Regions from separate parts of the Homo sapiens genome. Here regions 2, 3 and 4 are each linked to region 1. Evidence: promoter capture Hi-C in 16 types of primary human blood cells and fetal thymus (Javierre and others, 2016). All regions are on one chromosome and are shown on one strand. The core of a region is centred on a gene start or on the middle of the fragment in contact, and the rest is flanking DNA. Distances in the headings are between cores, read along the strand shown. Region 1 holds the start of SLC25A3 (solute carrier family 25 member 3). Region 2 holds the start of IRAG2 (inositol 1,4,5-triphosphate receptor associated 2). Region 3 holds the start of RAN (RAN, member RAS oncogene family). Region 4 overlaps GOLT1B (golgi transport 1B).

Region 1 (3,146 bases), core at 68-2,567:
GATACGCACAAATTCCTGCAGTCAAATACATTTAATACACAAATAATGTTAGCTTTAACTTTTAAACTGAACGACAGATAGTGTAAATAAGGACTCTATCCATACTAAAGACAACAGAAGCACATGAATGATTTAAAGAAAAAAATCTTTCGATTTTACAGGCACAAGGTAGATAACATTCTTAGGACTCCTACAATTCGGTTTTCAGGTTTCTCTGTATGTACATACTTCACTAGGATTTAAAACACACACAACTAAGTTAAAGCTGGGCCCAACCACCAAGAATCCCAAGAGATAATCACACCAAAGGGACGCCCACCAATTATCTCCTTTCTATTGCCTATGTAGGGCTGCAAGCTGCCTCCTCCAGTCGCACGAAAACAGGACATCTAGTTATCTCATATACAATTAAGTGCAAAAATGACTGACCTGGCGTCGACAAATATAAAACTTAGGAAAGGACTATTTTTAAGAAAACTAAGGGCAAATCAAAGGACAGGTAATATAGTTAGTAGAACTGTGGGTGGTCAGTAGTTTCGGGAGGAGAGTTTACCCAGTACTTAGTTTGCTGACCAAGCGAGCTCACGGCGGAGAAAGAGCTAGTCACGGCCTCTCTTCCCTCGGGCACACGGAGGTCACGAAGGGACACAGGGCCTCAGCGCTTCCACGCCCTTGAGGGAAGGCCAAGGATCTGACACCCGCCTATGGTGGAAAAGGCCGATACCCCAGGGCAAGCAACTGGGCGCCGTCCTACGGTGCAGCGGGCTGGACTCGTCCTTCCCTGTCCTCCAAGCCGGGTCCAGGCCTCAAAGGCTGGGCGGCCCACAAGTAGACCACACGACTGTATTGGGCAGGGTCTGATCTCACCTTCCACGGCGGCGGCTGCCAGGTTGCGAGGGCGGCGGGGCTGGCCCGTGGGCCCTGGGGAGCTGCTGCGGAGGTCCCCGAGACCATCGTGCACCAGCTGCAGATGTGGCGTGTTGAAGGGGTTCGCCCGCGCCAGGTGCGCCACGGACGAGAACATCTTTCTAGGGGAGGAGGGAGCGACGGTTAGAGGACAGGCAAGGCGCCGGTTAACGTTACCGGCGCCCTGGAACCCCAACCGGGGCCTTTTCCTTCCCGTCTCCACGCCCTTGAAGAGGTCACGGCGGCCTTCGAAAGAGGCTGCTCCCGGCTGGGCCCACCGCCAAAGCAGCGGCCCCACAGGAGCTCTGGGCTCCGCTCCCCACACCCGCCACAGGAGAAGGCCCGGCCACACTCACTCCCTAAGATGGCGATCACACAACCACTCCCTTGGAAAGGTTGCGGCTCACAGAGGCCGGACGTCCTCCGGGTCCTAAGATGTGTGCCCTTCGCGCGTCGTCGGCGTGACGCACACAGCGCGCCACTGCAAGTACGCGTCGCCCATTGGTGGAGAAGAGCGCCGAGCCCGTAGCGTCATCGCGTTCTCCTAGCAACCTTATTCCCGCCCCTGCCCGCCCCAGCTCTTCCGCCCGGCTTGTGCGCGGGAGGATTCGTTCTGCGCAGGCGCGCGTTCCGGGTCTATATTTTTTGAGAGGGGTCGGGCTCGAGCTCTTACCCTGCTCGCTTTGTCCCTTCACCTTCAGGTGTCTCTCCTTGACCACGGGCTTCAGTTCGCTTCACTTAAGTGAATCACAGTATCTAGTAGTCACTTAAAAAACAAAACAAAACGCGAATGCTTGATAATATATTTAGGTGTTGGAGTTACAACATCACTGCAGTACTTTGTGTCACAACTTCTGCCATTACAGTACTTTTTAAAATAAGTTCCATCCATTGACATTAAACATAGGTATGTCTGTATTTTTCATCAGACTCCTGGAGAATATTTTAAAAAGAAATGTGCAGCAAGAAGTCTTACGACAGCTTGCCGCGTTATCACAGTAATCTACAGAACACGTTGAAACATTGAACTCCTGAGATGTTACAGCGATGAACTACTGAAAGTGACTGATAGCAGATTGTGCGTGTGTGTGGTTAATACATTTAGGAAGCTTTCATTAGATTCAGCTCAACAGGGAGGGGCGTAGTTTAGTTGGGGAGAGTTTAATAGGGATTCAACCTGTTAGACTTCTGACTCTTATATTTTCCAAGCTCTTGACAAAGTAACCTTGGGAATTTACTTCATCTCTGTGTACCTGTTCCCTAGATGTAAGATAGGGGTGGGACTGGCCTCATAGGTTCACACTGGTACAGTCACACATGGCCTTACACTTCATTTAATGCTCTGCTGTCATTTTGATTTTTTTTTTTTTTCTTTTGAGATGGAGTCTTGCTCTGTCGCCCAGGCTGGAGTGCAGTGGGGCGATCTCAGCTCACCGCAACCTCCGCCTCCCGGGTTCAAGCGATTCTCCTGTCTCAGCCCCCGGAGTAGCTGGGACTACAGGCGTGCACAACCACGCCCGGCTAAGTTTTCTATTTTTAGTAGAGACAGAGTTTCGTCACGTTGGCCAGTCTGGTCTCGAACTCCTGAGCTCAGGTGATCCGCCCACCTCGGCCTCCCAATGTGCTGGGATTACAGGCCTGAGCCACCATGCCCGGCTTGAAATTCTTAATACATGTATGAACAAGGGGCCACGCTTTTTTTAGTTTGCACTGGACCCTGCAAATCAGGTGTCTGGTTCTGGATGGGAGTAATACTTACCTTGCAGAGTCTATGAGAACTCAATGAGATAATGTCTAAAAGTCTACAGAAGATGTTACCTAAAAAAAGTTAGCATTGGCCGGGCGAGGTGGCTCACGCCTGTAATCCCAGCACTTTGGGAGGCCGAGGCGGGCAGATCACGGGGTCAGGAGATCGAGACCATCCTGGCTAACACGGTGAAACCCCGTCTCTACTAAAAATACAAAAAATTAGCCGGGCGAGGTGGCGGGCGCCTGTAGTCCCAGCTACTGAGGAGACTGAGGCAGGAGAATGGCGTGAACCCAGGAGGCAGAGCTTGCAGTGAGCCGAGATCATGCCACTGCACTCCAGCCTGGGCGACAGAGCAAGACTCCGTCTCAAAAAAAAAAAAAAACAAAAAAACAAAAGTTAGCATTGAGGCTGCGGCATCACGGCACTCTCTAAGCAACCCTATCCCAGACCCAGCCCTTCTGGCCCAACTAAAGTCCTACAGTCCCAGGAA
Region 2 (2,958 bases), core at 339-2,838, about 74 Mb after region 1:
ATCAAGAACGTGCACTTTGGGGTAAGTTATTAAAGTTGACTCTTCTAAGAAAATACTGCAAGAAAATCACAGTGAGGAAGGGGAACAAATTCTTAGTAGTTTATAAAACTCAGGTATAATATTGATTTAATCAAAAGGCAAAACTGGAGCAAAAGAATAGTCCTGGGCACAGTGTCTAAAGCAGACACACCTTAAACCAACTTTGGAATGCCTTATGATTCATGTCTCAACATGAACAGTTCTAATCACAAGGGAACCTTCTCCAATGCCCTCTGAGCAGTAGTAAAATAACACACAGACTGTGTAATTTAAAGACTGCCTTACTAGCTTAACAGAGTGAATCAGAATATTGAAAACTGGCAAATTCAATAAAGGTTTAAAAATTATGACAATAATATGTTGAATAACCACTGCTATTTTAATGTTTTATTTATTTATTTGTTTGTAATTTTTGTAGAGACAGGGTTTCACCATGTTGTCCAGGCTGGTCTCAAACTCCTGGGCTCAAGCAATCTGCCCACCTCGGCCTCCCAAAATGCTGGGATTACAGGGGTGAGCCACTGTGTCCGGCAAACCATTGCTATTTTAAAACTAGACTATTTCTTAAACTCCTAAATAGCTTTCTCAGATAATAGTAGAAAGGGTACAATAAATCCAAAACAAACACAAGTCTGAAATTTTTCATCTCTAGCCTACCTTAAGCTTATATATTAAATATATAATTATTTATAATTATATAACAATTAACAAATAAACAATGTTTATTTCTCAAACCAAGTAACTTTCTATAAAAAGAATATTTATACTGCTAGAACAAGAAACTGGCTGAACAAAAGCAATTGTCTGATAAATGGCTAAATAAGTAAGGTTTATTTTTACCATATTAGGTTTCTAGAATGAAACAATTTTATAGCTAATCTGACATCTGTAATGTGACAACTGTCTTCTCACATAAATCTCTGGTAACTGTTTATATACTTTTGGGTAATACAGAAAAATGACAAATATTCCAATTTTTAAAATGCAAAATATGTATGTAGATGTATGTAGAGAATGCATTAAAACTTTAAAAGAATTTTCACACATTTGATATTTTGATATACACTGAATTCATAATTATTTTGCCCAACCCCCTAAAATTTCCAAAGAAAATAGACGAGCAAGGCCTTTTCTACCATATGAGAGGAAAAAAACTAGCTAATAAAATCAGAGTATAATATATAACAACTTGCAAGTTCAAATATACCATGCATACTAGATTTTTCTCCTTGTTTACTTTTAGAAATTTTGAGAAGTTTTAATTAATTTTAAAAGAAAAAAACAGCCACAGACAAAACCAGCTTATAATAAAAAGGCAAAAAGGGAAGTTAATGGTTAAACCCATGCATGCACCTAGCCACTCAGCAAACCTCTCTGAAAGCCCCACAATATTGCCTTCTCAAACCATTTCATTGTCATAAACTCAGGAATAATATCCTAGCTGTAATCTAGAAAAATGTCTGTAGTCCTATGCCCCGCCTGAGGGTGGACAAAAACTGGGTCATAAATGAATATTTGCTACTCACTCTTCAGTTTCCTTGTCTTCTGCTGAAGTGCCTGGCAAGTGTTCGATAATTCAGTATTTATAGTTTGAAGGTTCCGTTGTTCCGAAATTGCTTCCTCTAATTTATGCAGTAAAGACGTAGCTTTTTCACTGGCAGTGTGGGCTTCTCGATCTCGATCCTTACCCTGGACATGGATAGTTAGTGCTGGATTGTAGCAGTGTGGCCAGGAAAGAAAGCAATGGAGTGCTCACTCTTATGATGCAGGCAAAACTGAAAATGTGTTTTTCTTCTCAGGGAAGTGATAAGCCTCTCCTGAACTTCTGCAATTCTGTGTTTGCATGGGCTTGGTATGCCTGAGCTATTTCTACAGCGGTTAAAGTCCTGATATGTCAAGTTGCCTCTTTCTGCAGAGTCGCCTCTTTCATCAGCAGGCTGTTGATACCGCCTCTCTTACAACTCCCCCTTTACTTCCTCTGCTCACTGTTAGTCGCTAGGGACTGAACTTGCAGTTCCTCTTTGCTTTTTTTTTTTGTTTGTTGTTGTTGTTCCTCCTCCATTTTTATTTCATGGTTTGCAGGGCATCTGAGGAGATGTCCCCTGAATCTAATGTAGCCATGAGCCACCCTACCTGCTCCTCCACATCCTCCAGCCGTTGGCTGGTTTCTTGGAGCCTCTTCCTAAGGATGCCTTCCTGGTTGACAGCATCTTCCTGTAGTTGTTTAATGGCTTCTAGTTGTTTCTGACTGGAGTTAAAAAAAAAAAAAAAAAAAAAAGTCCAAACCGCAAGCTGTCAGTGACATTTCAACTAAGAGTCACCCTGTGAAATTATGACAAACTCAAACTTAACACCACTTCCTTAGAGATCAGAGGAAAAAGTGAAAGTATTTACATATAAATGCTTCACAAATATAAAATCTTAAGCAAAGCTTATTGGTCGCTTAGCCTGACACCCTCACTTTACAGATAAGGACTTCTAGTTTCATCTTTTACACTGGTGTGTTCAGTTCCCACCAGCTGCATTCATAGCACTTAGCATCAGTTGCCAGTTGCCAGTTACTCAGAAGATGGCTCTACAATGAGGTCAGGGTGACAGGTGCAACATTTACACATCACAGCTAGCTTTTACAGAAAAAGAAAGGAATGGGGTAAAGGTAGGGGGAGGGAAAAGAAAAGGAAAGAGAGCTTTGTTTCATGACCTTAGCCTTTCTCCTTAAGGGTTGTCAATCATAGTATAAACACGTGCCACGAGCACAGGAAGGACCGCCCCCAGGCACAGATGAAAGCTGGCGGTTGATATTTCTACTTTAGTCCTCTTTTTGCTGAAGCTTTTCTCCCCATCACCCTTCCCCACCACAGATCTCATGGTGCCATTACGTTACACCTCATTTGGATCCAATTCTAATCTCTAAAACAT
Region 3 (3,133 bases), core at 217-2,716, about 32 Mb before region 1:
TTAAGATCTCCTATCTCCTCTGGTCTAGTATCTGGTGTTTATTGTTTTCTAATACAGTAAAAACATTCATTGATCACCACACCAAAATACATACATGAACCTAAGTTTCCAAATACTGAAACTGCTGTTAACAGCCTATTATTGTTTTAAATATGACTTATAAGTCCCAGTGTAAGTCATAGTTTTTTCTAAAGCATGCCTAGCATGACACAGCATGCAAATGACACAACTTTAATAAAATTTTCTCTGCCACCAAAATGGTGGTCAACTCCCCGAAGTCCACTTGTCTTTTTTTAACCCAAAAATGACACTATTTGTTGGAACAGACCTGATTTTCTATAACCTTGAAGACTGAAGTACACAAAACCTCTCAAAAACCGTTCAGCAAGTTACAAATGCCTACCTTGGATATAATAGCCATCTCTCAGTCCACCGAATTTCTCCTGGCCGGCTGTGTCCCATACATTGAACTTAATAGGTCCTCTGTTGGTGTGGAACACTAGGGGATGAACCTCAACACCCAAGGTGGCTGAAACGGAAACGATGCGATTGAGTGGATGAACTTACCCATTTCTCACATATTTCCACAAGCAAGGTTTTCCAGCACATACCTACATACTTCTTCTCAAATTCACCAGTCAAATGACGTTTCACGAAGGTCGTTTTTCCAGTACCACCATCACCAACCAATACAAGCTGTTGAAAAACACATTTTGGAAGTAAACCCTAAACACTTCACCTCTCAAGATCCCAGAGTCACGGAACTTTAACCACCACAGGCTCACTTAAAACAAAGAATGTGGATGCGGGGCCCCATTACAGCCATCGTGGCCCCAGGAGGAGGGACCCGCGAGTCGCACGCGGTCGGGCTCGGCCGCCTCCCGCCCCGCAGGGTTACCTACTTTGAACTGGACCTGGGGCTCTCCCTGCGCAGCCATCGCGGCGTTCCTGCGGAGGCAGAGGACGGAGGCGAGCGCTCGCGCGGCCCCGCAGCCCATGGCGGCCCCGCTCCCGCGCCCCCAGCGCCCCACGTGCCCGCCCCACAAAGGCCTCCCGCCCGCGGCGCCATGGCGGCCAGGCCTGGGAGCGGGAAGGCGGCGGGCGGGGCCGGCATCCGGGGCGGCGGGGCCCGGGGAACGGCGGCCGGAGGTGTAGGGATGGGAACGGGACTGGGACCGGGACGGGGATGAGAGCGGAGGATGAAACGGGGGTTCGCGGGGGCTAGCGCCGACCCCACGCCCGTCTCCTGCCCCGGCCCGGCCGGGCCCGCACCACCCACCTACTCAGCCGCCCGCTGCCCCTGGGTCCGCCACCCGCCCCGGCCCTGGCCCCGGCTCCGACCCCTATCCCGCCGCCGCCACCCCTGTCCCCGCCCGGCCGTGCCGGGCCCGCCGGGTCGCGATACCTTCCAGAAGCGTCTCCGCGCCCGTCCGACTGAGGCTGGAAAGATGGCGGAAGCGCAATTCAAACGCCGGAGACGCAGCCGACGCCGGCGCGAGAGCAGGGGCGGGGCCGGCGCGGGGCGGGGTTGCAAGGGGCGGGGCAACGGCGCGGCGCCCGCCCACGTGGCCCGCGCGTGCGCGCACGCACGCAACGCGGTTCGGTCGGCCGCTCGGGCGGTCGCTGCGCTTAGGGTGGGGCGGGAGGCGCGGTGGACCGCGTGGGAGGGCGAGCCGGGAGCGCGTACGCAAGCCGGCCGGTGGGGACCGCGTGCGCCGACGCCCCGGGCGGGCTCCCGGGCGCGCATGCGCTGAAAGCGAGGCGGCGCGCCCCTGAGCGGGAGACGTTGGGCGCGGCCCGACGGTCGCGGCTCTCCTGCCTCCCGGGTGGGAGGCGGTACTCGCTCGGGCAGACGTGGTCAGGCACGCGGCTTCCAGGCGCTGGCCAGCCTGTCCTTGTCTGTGCCCCGTGGGGTGGGGGTTCTTGAGGTCCTGGGGCTTAGGGTGGCTCGCGTGCGCGCAGGACGGGTGGGTGACAGAACGAATGAATGAATGAATGGGGTCTAGGCCCGTCCTCCAGAGGCAGCCCGCTGTTCTGTCTCTCCAGATCGTAGCCTTCACGCCCCCAGGACCAGGGCCAGTTGGAGAGCGAGGAACCAGAGAGGGATGCACCCACCCAGAAAAACGGCTACTTATTTTTTTTAAGAGACGGAGTCTCGCTACGTTGCCCAGGCTGGTCTCGAACTCTCAGGCTCGGGCGATCCTCCCGCCTCAGCCTCCCGAGTAGCTGGGACTACAGGCGCGCACCACATCAGGGGTAATTTTTTAAAAATTTTTTTGAGAGACAGAATCTAACTATGTCTCCCAGGCTGGCCTCAGGGGATCCACCCGCCTCGGCCTCCCAAAGCGTCCGGCTTCTCAAAGCGTTTCATAGGTTGGCAGCTTTGGCCGCTGCATGCTACAGACAAAATGATGAAATACTGTTTGCAGTCTGGACGCGTCTACCAGCCCTAGTTACCAACGGGGACGGAATGAGTAAGTGCTCAGCTTCCCAGCCCCCTGTTGGCCTGAAGCTGTAAGAGCCCAAACAAGCTTGAGCTAGAGGGACCCGACTTCCTGGGCGCCCCTGCCGACATGCAGACAGATAAAGGCCCAAATCAGCGCAGTCAAGCGCCTCAGAAGAGTCCACCATGGGGAGAGAGCCGCAGTGACCGAAGAGTCCTCCCTGCAGTCCTGAGCACACTTGCAGGCGAGTCCGCTAGGAACCCCAGTGACGCAAATTAGGCACAAAGCAGGCGACAACCGGCCTGCTGGGAACGCAAGTCCGAGCTCCCCCAGAACCCTCAGGGGAACCCCAAGCACCTCTCAGACGCTGCTGGCGGGAGAGCAGAATCTAACAGTAAAACGGGAATGCCCATTGCTTGTGACCCCGGATTTCCATTTCTAGGGAGAGGCCCCAGAGTTAAACTCATGCCTCACGCATGTGCACAACATTTAATACTGTATAACATTTAAAAGGAATGACGGTCATCTGTTTCAACAGGGTTAGATAGATGTCAAAAGGATAGTGTTGAGAAAAGAAGAAAGAGGTGATAACAGCTTTATAAAGTCTAGGCCACCTGTAATCCCAGCACTTTGGGAGTCCGAGGTAGGAGGATCCCTTAAACCCAGGAGTTACAGGCTGCAATGGGCAA
Region 4 (3,015 bases), core at 334-2,833, about 77 Mb after region 1:
AATGTGTGATTTCAAATGCCATTATTTAGGGTTATAAATATCTAGAAAAACAACATCAAAGACCCTTGGCACTAAATCTCCAGCTCAGAATATCTCAGAACACAACAAAACCCAACAACAAAAACTAGTATTTATACCACAAAGCTCTCTAAACCACGAAACCTGTGTATTACTCCAAGCTTGTCGATGATACTAAGACTTCCCATTTTTTATTCATCTCAAAGATCAGCTTTGGCTTTTAACCTTCATTACTAAAACCCCCACATAACTGGGAAAGCCAATGATTTTCTTACTTCTTAAGGTGCTTAAGTTTTCTGCTGCAAGATACATCTGCCAAAACAAACTCTTCTTCACTCTTTTCTCTCTTAGCCACTATGATCTTTACTCCTAGTTCTTCTCCCACCTCTTTTCCTAGTCTCTTCTAGTGTTTTCTTCTTTTTCTCCACCTACCCTAAAATGTCAAAAGTACTCCAAGATTCCAGTCTTATCACTGTATATTCTGTACTGTATTAACCGCCTCTTGACTGGCTCCCCTGACTTCAGTTTTTCTCTTTAATACCTACTTTATCCTGATATCAGAACAACCTTCCTAAAACATCTACCCTGTTGTACCACCTCTGGCTTAAAAACCTCTGTGCCCCACTCCCCCGACCTTCTCCAAACACTGCTCCCCCAGCCCAAATTTGGTTACAGGATAAGGTATACTTTTCTCAACAAGTCATCAAAGAAAGTTTGTAACCTGGCTCCAGGCTTCATTTTCAGTTTCATTACCAACCATTTCCTTCAACTGATCACATGCTCCTGTTCTATAAGAGTATTCATTCTTTTCAGAACAAGCTGTGTGTTTTTATGGCCCTGTCTGTTCCTTCTGTTAACTGTCGTTCCCTTTCTCGTTTATAGGATAAATTCTTACCCATTCTTCAAAGCCCAGTTTATCAGTTAACATTTCTCACCTCTCCTTGAATTTACTAATTTTTTAATCATGCTTCCACAATATTCTGCATACACATTTATAATGGCATTATGACTATATCCTATTGGTATTTTTAGAGTCTACTTTCCATAATAGAAATGAGAGATTTTCTAAAGCAGATTTGGTACTTAATTTATTTTTATGTCTCCTGTGGGTAATACAGTGCCTGGCAGACAGAAGACAAAGGATATGCATTTCTGGAATAAATAATTAAGCTCAACCCTACTTAAAGTTATTTTCTTTTCTGTTTTTTTTTTTTTTTTTTTTTTTTTTTTGAGACAGAGTCTCGCTCTATTGCCTAGGCTGGAGTGCAATGGTGTGATCGGCTCACTGCAACTTCCGCCTCCCAGGTTCAAACAATTCGCCTGCCTCAGCCTCCCGAGTAGCTAGGATTACAGGCGCCTGCCAGCATGGCCAGCTAATTTTTGAATTTTTAGTAGAGACGGGGTTTCATCATGCTGGCCAGGCTGGTCTTGACCTCCTGACCTCAGGTGATCCGCCCACCTCGGCCTCCCAAAGTGCTGGGATTACAGGTGTGAGCCACCGCACCTGGCCAAAGGTATTTTCATATAGATATATACACATACTATTGTTTATCTGCTAACTGGCATTTACAAAATATTACCTGCTCAAAATCTCCCATAGTAGTGTATTTGGTAAACAATCTTCTAATACGTATATGTGCTAAATAAATTTCCATCAAGTAGCAGTAGCTATGAAGTATAAGATTCTACACACCAAAATGCTGGATCTATCTATCTATCTATCTATCTATCTATCTACCTACCTACCTACCGATTGATCGATCGACCGACCTACCTACCACTATTTAGTTGATACAAATATCCAACATAAAGATGGTGCCTTAAAATGCCAATAAAATAAACTTTATTGTGCTGACAAAACAAGATAATTTATACCATTAGGCAATCATTCACATGTGATAAAACATTTTTATAGTTGCTTCATCTAAATCTATAAGATTCAACCTAAATAAAATTCCATTTAAGGAAATGATCATCATCTTACTCCAACTGATGCAAATATCTGAGTTTTTGTACTAACTATCTGACACACTGATTTACTGAAAGAGACAATAATATGCCTTACCTGAACAAGAGAAAAAATCCATAAATTTCGAAGATCATGCCTATCAAAGGCCAACCAATAAGGACTACAAATACACCACCCAGAAAAAAACCTGTAGCTTTCATTTTATGTTTTTGGAAGAAGAATCTGAATGTTCTTTCTAAACCAATTACAAAAGCCAAGCCGGCTACAAATAAAACCTAAAAGAGAAAGAAAATACAACACGGAAAAGGTAATTAAACACAATGCATAAATTTTAAACGTAAAGTCAAAGCTAAATATAAAAAAAGAAGCACATTTGTTTGGCTTTTAATGTGGGCAACTGGCCAGACAGAACTGTAATGTACAACCAAGCAGCAGAACCAAGGAGTGGGTTATGCATTTTAAAGTTGTAGCTTTGTTCCACTTGTCTCATTCCTCTTCTATCTTGATTAAATGGAGAAAAAGAGAAACAAAGAAAGATTAGACGTTACCAAGGGGCATCTGTGTCTGCAGTAGTTTTCCTAGTTTTAGCTGGATGAGGAAGGCTTAGTCAAGCAGATGAGTTGGCAAGGCATAAAGAGGAAAGCTGCCCATAAATATGTCACCCAAGGGTATTCCTCTTGGTTCTGAAATATTCATCATAGGCTACAGGAGTTTCTATGGATGGGAGAAATATTGACATGGCTAAGTTGATAGCAGAAGAAACAACGTGAAGCCAAGAAGATTCTAGTTTTATAAATTCTAGAATATCTGGTGGCAGCAGAAATAAAAATACAACCATGTGTTTTCAAATATTTTGAATGTATTCTGTGGACAAGAAATGGTGATGGATTAAGAGCTTGCTTTCCCCAGGTTTTCTTTCCAAATACTTGCCCTCCCCATTAACATTCTTTAGTGAAAAATATTTCGCACAAATACATATTAAGCCTAATGGTTAAGCTTCATATTCTAGGATACTAATGCTATTATCA

What was found. Contacts are between HindIII fragments. The CHiCAGO score rates a contact against its expected background, and 5 or more counts as called.
Region 2: a contact is called between a fragment that was not itself captured here and the fragment with the promoter of SLC25A3 in region 1, in 1 of 17 cell types (total CD8 T cells). The highest score is 8.2, in total CD8 T cells.
Region 3: the fragment with the promoter of RAN here is called in contact with the fragment with the promoter of SLC25A3 in region 1 in 1 of 17 cell types (naive CD8 T cells); the score reaches 6.8 in naive CD8 T cells.
Region 4: a fragment that was not itself captured here is called in contact with the fragment with the promoter of SLC25A3 in region 1 in 1 of 17 cell types (total B cells); the score reaches 5.1 in total B cells.

Annotation. Positions count from the first base shown.
Region 1 is chr12:98,591,857-98,595,002 of GRCh38, reverse strand. SLC25A3 (solute carrier family 25 member 3) reads right to left here and starts at 1,317. Exons shown (of 8, transcript NM_002635.4): 1 at 1,263-1,317; 2 at 868-1,028. The coding sequence starts at 1,024. RefSeq lists enhancers at 278-902, 1,226-1,325, 903-1,527, 1,576-1,795. The HindIII fragment of the contact is 3,126 bases long and covers 1-2,017 here.
Region 2 is chr12:25,051,564-25,054,521 of GRCh38, reverse strand. It overlaps IRAG2 (inositol 1,4,5-triphosphate receptor associated 2), which reads right to left and starts at 1,816. Exons shown (of 22, transcript NM_001366544.2): 1 at 1,566-1,816. RefSeq lists enhancers at 1,942-2,311, 2,352-2,461. The HindIII fragment of the contact is 1,768 bases long and covers 705-2,472 here.
Region 3 is chr12:130,870,399-130,873,531 of GRCh38, reverse strand. It overlaps RAN (RAN, member RAS oncogene family), which reads right to left and starts at 1,466. Exons shown (of 7, transcript NM_006325.5): 1 at 1,406-1,466; 2 at 903-948; 3 at 612-696; 4 at 404-529. The coding sequence starts at 938. RefSeq lists silencers at 952-1,161, 1,212-1,351, 1,422-1,881 and enhancers at 903-1,664, 2,162-2,241, 1,665-2,426. The HindIII fragment of the contact is 6,850 bases long and covers 1-2,533 here.
Region 4 is chr12:21,507,630-21,510,644 of GRCh38, reverse strand. GOLT1B (golgi transport 1B) reads right to left here. Exons shown (of 5, transcript NM_016072.5): 3 at 2,084-2,262. Among named protein-coding and RNA genes, the nearest start is that of GOLT1B, 7.3 kb to the right of the region's middle. The HindIII fragment of the contact is 2,804 bases long and covers 182-2,985 here.